Regions from separate parts of the Homo sapiens genome. Here region 1 is linked to region 2. Evidence: promoter capture Hi-C in human tissues and cell types (Jung and others, 2019). All regions are on one chromosome and are shown on one strand. Each heading gives the region's core, a stretch centred on a gene start or on the middle of the fragment in contact. The rest is flanking DNA. Distances are from core to core; before and after follow the strand shown. Region 1 has its middle 23 kb from the start of NFAM1. Region 2 holds the start of WBP2NL (WBP2 N-terminal like).

Region 1 (4,095 bases), core at 1,271-3,770, 460 kb after region 2:
CCCAAGAGAACAGGGCACAGCTGATGGGGGTTACTTCTGAGACTAGGTGATCAAGACTGGGGCTTGCTGGGTCCCTCTGTCTCTGACTCTTTCCTCTGCTCTCTCCTGCTCACTTGCTCACCCTAATACTATATCAAGAGCTGCCCTAGAAAGAGGCCCCGTGGCAAAGAACCAAAGGCACCCAGCAACACGAGTGAGGGTGGAAGTGGCTCTTTCCCCATTCCAGCCTCGCGGTGACCGCAGCCCTGGCTGACACCTTGCTTGCAGCCTGGTGAGAGACAGCAGCCCGAGGACCCTGCTAAGCTGCACCCAGGCTCCTGACCCATGGAAACTGTGAGATGATAAACATGTACTGCTTAAGCTGAGATTCGGGCTAATTTGTTACACAGTCATAGACATCGTTTTTTGTTGTTGTTGTTTTTTGAGATGGAGTCTCACTCTGTCGCCCAGGCTGGAGTGCAGTGGCACAATCTCAGCTCACTGCAACATCCACCTCCCAGGTTCAAGCGATTCTCGTGCCTCAGCCTCCCAAGTAGCTGGGATTACAGGCATCTGCCACCATGCCCGGCTAATTTTTTTGTATCTTTAGGAGAGACAGGGTTTCACCATGTTGGCCAGCTGGTCTCAAACTCCTGAGCTCAAGAGATCTGCCCACCTTGGCCTCCCAAAGTGCTGGGATTACAGGCATGAGCCACTGTGCCCGGCCTGTTACACAGTCATAGACATCTATAAAATACTCAACACGGTGCCGGCGCATGGCAAGCATCAGTTACTGACCACGGTGACCCTTCTGTGTACACCAGGGGAACTCAAAATACTCAGGAAATCTAAGCATATAAGCCTAGTCACCAGGCTGTCGACATGACCCTTAACAATGAACCTGTGTCTTTTGCCACCTCATGATGTCATAGAAGAAGAGCAGCATCAATGTTAAGAGTCTGGAGGAGGGACTAGATGCTGTGGCTCACACCTGTAATCCCAGCACTTTGGGAGGCCGAGGCAGGTGGATCACCTGAGGTCAGGAGTTCGAGACCAGCCTGGCCAACATGGTGAAACTTTGTGTTTACTAAAAAATACAAAAAATTAGCCAGGCATAGTGGCATGCACCTGTAATCCCAGCTACTCTGGAGGCTGAGGCAGGAGAATCTCTTGAACCTAAAATCTAAAAAATAAGACCACGCCAAGGAAAAAAATCAGTAACAGTATAGAGGGGATGGAAGCAGACCTCTTTAATACACCTTGTTCTTCAGTTTTGACTTTGCCATCATGTAAATGCTTTATTTAGTTCTAAATCAAATTTAAATTGAAAAAAAAAAATTCCCAGGCCAGGGCGGCGGCTCATGCCTGCGATCCCAGCACTTTGGGAGGCTGAGGTGGGCAGGTCAACTAAGCCCAAGAATTTGAGACCAGCCTGGGCAATATGACAAAACCCCATCTCTACAAAAAATACAAAATTAGCCAGATGTGGTGGTGCAGGTGCTTGGAGGCTGCTTGGGAGGCTGAGGTGGGAGGATGACCTGGGCCTGAGAGGTGGAGTTTGCAGTGAGTCGAGATTGCACCACTGCACTCCAGCCTGGGTGACAGAGTGAGGCCCTGTCTCAAAAAAGAAAAAAAAAAAAGTATTTCCTAGTTGATTTTTGTTCAACTTCAATTAATCATAATCTACCTTCTTTTTTTTGTTTTTGAGACAAGAGTCTCGCTCTGTTGCCCAGGATGGAGTGCAATGGTGTGAACTGCAACCTCTGTCTCCTGGGTTCAAGCAATTCACCTGCCTCAGCCTCTTGAGTAGTTGGGATTACAGGTGTCCACCACCACACCTGGCTAAATTTTGTACTTTTAGTAGAGATGGAGTTTCACCATGTTGGTCAGGCTGGTCTCAAACTCCTGACCTCATGATCCACCCACTTCGGGCTCCCAAAATGCTGGGATTACAGGCGTGAGCCACCGTGCCCTGCCAATCACAATCTACCTTTAAGTGATAATATGCTACCTTTTTTTTTTTTTTTTTAGACAGTCTCGCTCTGTCCCTCAGGCTGGAGTGCAGTGGCGCAATCTTGGCTCACTGCAAGCTCTGCCTCCCGGGTTCACGCCATTCTCCTGTCTCAGTCTCCCAAGTAGCTGGGACTACAGGTGCCTGCCACCATGCCCGGCTAATTTTTTGTATTTTTAGTAGAGACAGGGTTTCACCGTGTTCGCCAGGATGGTCTCTATCTCCTGACCTTGTGATCCGCCTGCCTCAGCCTCCCAAAGTGCTGGAATTACAGGCATGAGCCACCATGCCCAGCCAATATACTACTTAATATAAAGCATAAGAACATTGGCCAGGTGCGGTGGCTTATGCCTGTAATCCCAGCACTTTGGGAGGCTGAGGAGGGTAGATTGCTTGAGCCCACAAGTTTGAGACCAGTGACACCCCATCTCTACAAAAAAATGTAAAAAATTAGCTGGGTATGGTAGTACATGCCTGTAGTCTCAGCTACTTGGGATCGCTTGAGCCCAGGAAGTCAAGGCTGCAGTGAGCCATGATTGTGCCACTGCACTCCAACCTGGGCAACAGAGCAAGACCCTATCCCCACTCCCCACCCTCCCAAAAAAAAGAACCTAAAAGTAGTGTATTTCTGATTCTCCACATACACACTCCATCTATTTAAGAAACTACAATAAATACAATGAGTTCAGGCTGGATGCGGTGGCTCATGACTGTAATCCCAGCACCTTGGGAGGCAGAGGTTGGTGGATCGCTCCACTGTACTCCAGCCTGGGTGACAGAGCGAGACTCTGTCTCAAAATAAATAAATGAATAATAAAATAAAAAGTAAATGGTCTAGGCCTGGCCAACATGGTGAAACCCTATCTCTACAAAAAATACAATATTTAGCCGGGTGTGGTGGTGTGCACCTGTAGTCCCAGCTACTGCGGAGGCTGAGGCAGGAGGATCACTTGAGCCCAGGAAGTGAAGGCTGCAGTGAGCCACAATTGCGCACCACTACACTCCAGCCTGGGTGACAGAGTGAGACCCTTTCTAAAAAAAAAAAAAAAAGGAAAGAAAAGAAAATGTCCAAATTTAAAGGCAGAGATTGTCAGATTGGATTAAAAAAAGATTCAGTATCCTATTTATAAGAAACACACTTCAAATATAAAGACACAAATAGGTTAAAAGTAGAAGGATGGAAAAAGACATACCTACCATGCTATCACAAATCCAAAAAAAGCTAGCGTGGCTTATCAATATCAGACCAAGTAGATTGTATAGCAGAAGACATTACCAGGGATAAAGAGGTTAATTCAATAATGATTAAGGGGTCAGTTATTCCAGAGGACATAACAATTCTAAACGTTTATGTACCTAATAACAGAGCTTCAAAACACTTGAAGCAAAAACTTATAGAACAGCAAAGAGAAATGGAAAAGTTGACAATCATAGTTGAAGATGTCAATACCCTGCTTTCAATAATTGATAGAATTGATAGAATAGCTGGGTATAGCCGTGTATCACCTGTAGTCCCAGCTACTCAGGAGGCTGTGGCAGGAGAAGCACTTTAGCCCAGGACTTGAGTCTAGTCTGGACAACATAGTGAGATCCCACCTCTGAATAAATACATAGAAATTGATAGAATGAATAGACAGAAAACCAGCAAATATATAGAAGATTTGAACAACATTATCAACCAACTCGATCCAATGGACATTTATAAAACACTTTACCCAACAACAGCAGAATACACATTCCTCTCAAGTTCACACAGAATATTTACCAACATAGACAATATTCTGAGACATTAAACAAGTCTCAGTACATTTAAAGGGACTCAAGTCATTCAAAGTATGCTCTCTTACAATGGAATTAAATTAGAAATTGGTAACAGAAAGAGCTCTGAAAATGCCCAAATAACTTGAAAACGAAATAACACACTTCTAAATAATCCACGGGTCAAAAAAGAAGTCAAAAGAGAAGTCAGAAAGTATTTTGAACTGACTGAAAAGGAAAACCCAACATATCAAGTTGTGTGGTATTATTAGCTGTACGTTTCTTTGTAGATGCTATTTATCAGGTTGAAGAAGTTCTCTATTCTCAGTTTGCTGGGAATTTTTTTT
Region 2 (4,022 bases), core at 577-3,076:
GAATGAAGGCCATTTCAAGCGCTGCTTCTCACTCCATTCCTCTCAGCTGTTATTGCTGCAGGGCCAAGCCCTTTTTAGTGCTGTGCTCGTCCAGCTCACCACCACAGCCCCTCTCAGCCCTCAGTAGGTGGGAGGGGCCAGCTGCCTCTTTAGGCCAGTTGCATCCTCCATTTATCCAAACCACTCCTCTCCTCCCAGTGGAGTGGGGTTCTGCCAGTACAGCCCTACTGCATCATCTGCGTCAGCCGGTCCTAGCCCATCTGCAGGGTGAAAGAACTCATCAAGAGCTCCTTCTGCCCTTGTAAGCCCATCCCAGCTACTTGTAACCATCTCTAAGGGCAATGGCATTGCTCCCTACCCATTCATCTGCATGAGCTACTCTTGGCTTCCTTAAAGGGTCAAGAAAGCAATTTTTCTGCTTACTAGATTCATTGAGATCAGCTGTGTGAGCCCCAAAGTGGGACAAGGGTGTCTCCTTCATTACTTAAAGATATTCATGAGGGTGGGTCACTACAGATGTTGGGGAGCAAGGGCTAGGATCACTTTTTAAAAAATCACCACTTGTGGCTGTCCCAGAGTGCGGTTGTACATCCTCCCCACCTCATAACGCAGCCACTGAGGAAGAGTGGTTTTCCTAAGAAGACATTGCTGGAGTTGACTTTCTTCTGTCCAAACAAACAAACAAAAACTAAACACACACACAAACCCCCAGAAACCCACAATATGTACACGCTAAGGAAAAACTAGCACCCTTCTGTCCACTCAGCAATAAGAGGGATCTCTTCCCACCTACCCTACCTACTCCTACCCCCAACCCCCTTCCCCATTAATGTGAGTAATGAATTAGCCTGACCACAGGTGGTCACTGTAGGCTAATGGAAAATACCCAAGGGAGGGCAAAGCCCCCCATCAGATGCATGAATGTTTGCGAATGTTGACTGCCACTGCCCCACACACTGTGTCTTTATAGAATTCCCCTTTGCCCACCCTCTTCCTGTCTCCACCTGGACACAACTTGCTCAAAGGCTGGTGACTTGTGGGCCATTCATCTACAACCAAGTCCTGATGGAGCAAGAGGCCCACGCCTAGGGGATGCAAGAACAACCCGTTTCTTAAATGTTACCAGTCCCAGCCAATCTTACGGTGACATTACAGTTAAATTTCCCAATTGAAAACAAGCAAACAGACACTCAAACTGGTCCTGTAATTGTTGCTAGACTTTATGTGTTGTACAACTAAACATTGCTGTTTGAACAGTAACTGCCTGGCCTGTCTTATTTGTGCTCCTTGACCAAATCAGCCATTATGTCATCTCACCCATGTGTGGAGGGTGAGACTCTCTTGGTAAGAAATAGCCACAGATATTAGAGATGAAAACACTTTGTGAGGTCAGTTCATCTTCAGTTGGCGTCAGGTCGGGCCTCAGTCATTATTTTCTAGTGTTTCATAACCAAAGTGAGTAATGGATGGGAGGTTGAGGTGGGAAGATGGCTTGAGCATGGGAGGTTGGAGGTGCAGTGAGCTGAGATCATTCCTGACAGGACCAACCCAAGTCCATACCTAAAGGCAGGGGGCTAAGGGGGCAGGTGAGGTCGGGAGGCCACTCACCTATCACTCACCCCTTCGCGCTCGAGCCAATTCTCAGGGCCCGCCTCTTTCTCCCCTTTCTCGGCGGGGGCCTCTACCCTGACTCCGCCCCGCTCCCCGGGCACTGCCCCACCACGTGACCCGGTCTCGCTCCTCCTCCTCCTCCTCCTTACGTCATAATCTCCGCCCTCCCCTTCAGAACCGCGCCCCACAGCTCGGCGCAGGTCCCGCCCCTTTCCATCTACGGGGCGGCAGGAGGCCCGAAGCAAGATGGCGGTGAATCAGAGCCACACCGAGAACCGCCGCGGAGCCCTCATCCCTAACGGTGAAAGGTGCCTGAGGGGAAGCACGGCGTGCTGTCGGAGGAGAGGAGACGAATGAGATAGACATGGCGGCTCGCAAACTCTCAGCGAGTCAGGGACTTTGCCGCCTTTTTTGGGCGCGGCGCTCTTAGCTCCGCCCCCGACCTTTGGGAGCGCGCGCCCCTCACTGGTGTTCCGGCATGTGGAGGTGGCGGAGGCCGGAACGCGTGGCCTCGCGCGTTTGAGGGGTGGGGGTGGGAATGCGCCTTTTCAAGGCGCGGGGCCCAGACGCATGTCTCCTCAGGGCGGGGCGGGGAGGGGGTGCGAGACGCGTGTGTCCTTCGAAGAGAGGCCGGAGCTGACCGGCGGTTGTGAGCAGCCGGGGGCCTTCGGTGGCAGCGTGGCTGCCCTTGGGTGCCTGCGACTTTGTTGGATGAGGACAGGTACTGGGTGTGTATCTCCTCCTACTTCCACGAACAAGGTGTCGCTCTTTGGTAAGAGGGATGAGGAGGTCGAGTGTGGATCATTCTGGAAAGATCTCAAACTGTTGTGGGGCTTCTCCTTGGACCTGGAAACTTTCTAAAGCCATGTTTCCTCCTTGCTCCAACCAGGGAGATGTCTGCTTTTAAAAACAAAATTGAAAAAATTGAGGCCAGGTGCAGTGGCTCATGCCTCTTATCCCAACAGTTTGGGAAGCTGAGGTGGCCCAGGAGTTTGAGACAAGACTGGGCAACATAGTGAGACCCCATCTCTACAAAAAGTAGAAAATTAGTGGGCCATGGTGGTGTGCACCCATAATCCCAGCTGCTTGGGAGGCGATGGTAAGAGGATTGCTTGAACCCAGGAGTTTGGGCTGCAGTGAGCTCAGATTGTACCACTGCACTCCAGCCTGGGTAACAGAGCCAGATCCTGTCTTAAAATAAAAGATGGGACTGAACAGATGCCTGGGCACAACAAAGCACTGTTGGTCGCAGGAAGCTGTGGGGCTTACACCAGTTGCTTTGCTCCTTGCGGTGCCTGCTGCTGGCCCCTGAGCTCTCTACTGGAGCAGACTCAGCCAGAGGGGTGCCCATCTCCACCTTCAAGCACACTTGTTCACTAAGGCCTGACTCCACTGCGCTCACCTCTTTACCCCACACGCCCCCTTTCCCGTTTCCTACACTCAAACTCAGTCTCCCCCGCTGTGCAGTTCTAAATTGCGCTCCTTTCTGGGCTCTGACTTGCCCTCAATTTCCTTTTCTCCCAACCAGCATTGAAACTCAAGCTGGATGATGTGCTTGGGGCCAGCACACTCAGGTCAGTTTGAATGTAGTTGTCAGGAAGATCGAAGTAGACGTTACCAAATGCTGATATCCAGGTCTTTCTTCTATCTTTCCTTCCTCCAGAAAGTTTTCTTGACAGATTTATATGGGCCTTAGAGGTTGTATGTTCTCACCTGCTTCCTACGTACCTCTGCTGCTTTGTTCCATTTTGTGGTAGATGATTGCTCACCACTCTGACAGTGGTGTCCCCGTGAGCACTTACTGAGAGCCATTTGAGCACTTGTCATTCCATGGTGTGAAGCCTTTCTTTTCTTTTCTTTTTTCTTTTCTTAAGATATTTTTATTTCTCCAAATTTGTTATTTATTAGGAGTGACTGAAATAAAAAACATAATTGAGTCCCATCATCATCATCATCATAGAAATGGCTTTAAGAGAAAACTGGTCAGATGACTATTATTGCTTCCCATTTCCAACCAGTGAATAGTTGCCACTGATAAATTGACAGCGAGGAGTCTGTCAAGAATGCTCAAGATAGCCGGGCGCGGTGGCCCACGCCTGTAATCCCAGCACTTTGGGAGGCCCAGGTGGGTGGATCACAAGATCGGGAGTTCAGGAGCAGCCTGGCCAATATGTTGAAACCCCATCTCTACTAAAAATACAAAAAAAAAAAAAACAGCCGGGAGTGGTGGCGGATGTCTGTAGTCCCAGCTACTCAGGAGGTTGAGGCAGGAGAATTGCTTGAACCCAAAAGGTGAATCACCCAAAAGGTGAACCAAAAGGTTGAGGCAGGAGAATTGCTCCACCAAAAGGTGGAGGTTGCAGTGAGCCGAGATTGTGCCACTGCACTCCACCCTGGGCAATAGAGGGAGA

What was found. The method cuts DNA at HindIII sites, captures the fragments that hold promoters and counts their contacts. A contact is called where the count stands out against the background at its distance.
Region 1: a fragment that was not itself captured here is called in contact with the fragment with the promoter of WBP2NL in region 2 in 1 of the 25 tissues and cell types used here (dorsolateral prefrontal cortex).

What each region holds. Positions count from the first base shown.
Region 1 is chr22:42,452,954-42,457,048 of GRCh38, forward strand. No RefSeq gene overlaps it. Among named protein-coding and RNA genes, the nearest start is that of NFAM1, 23 kb to the left of the region's middle. The HindIII fragment of the contact is 8,803 bases long and covers 1-4,095 here.
Region 2 is chr22:41,996,962-42,000,983 of GRCh38, forward strand. It overlaps WBP2NL (WBP2 N-terminal like), which reads left to right and starts at 1,827. Exons shown (of 6, transcript NM_152613.3): 1 at 1,827-1,919. The coding sequence starts at 1,858. It overlaps SEPTIN3 (septin 3), which reads left to right. Exons shown (of 12, transcript NM_001363845.2): 12 at 1-1,260. The coding sequence ends at 6. It also overlaps the pseudogene SLC25A5P1. RefSeq lists enhancers at 1,377-1,893, 1,894-2,408, 3,743-4,022 and a silencer at 1,720-1,779. The HindIII fragment of the contact is 18,305 bases long and covers 1-4,022 here.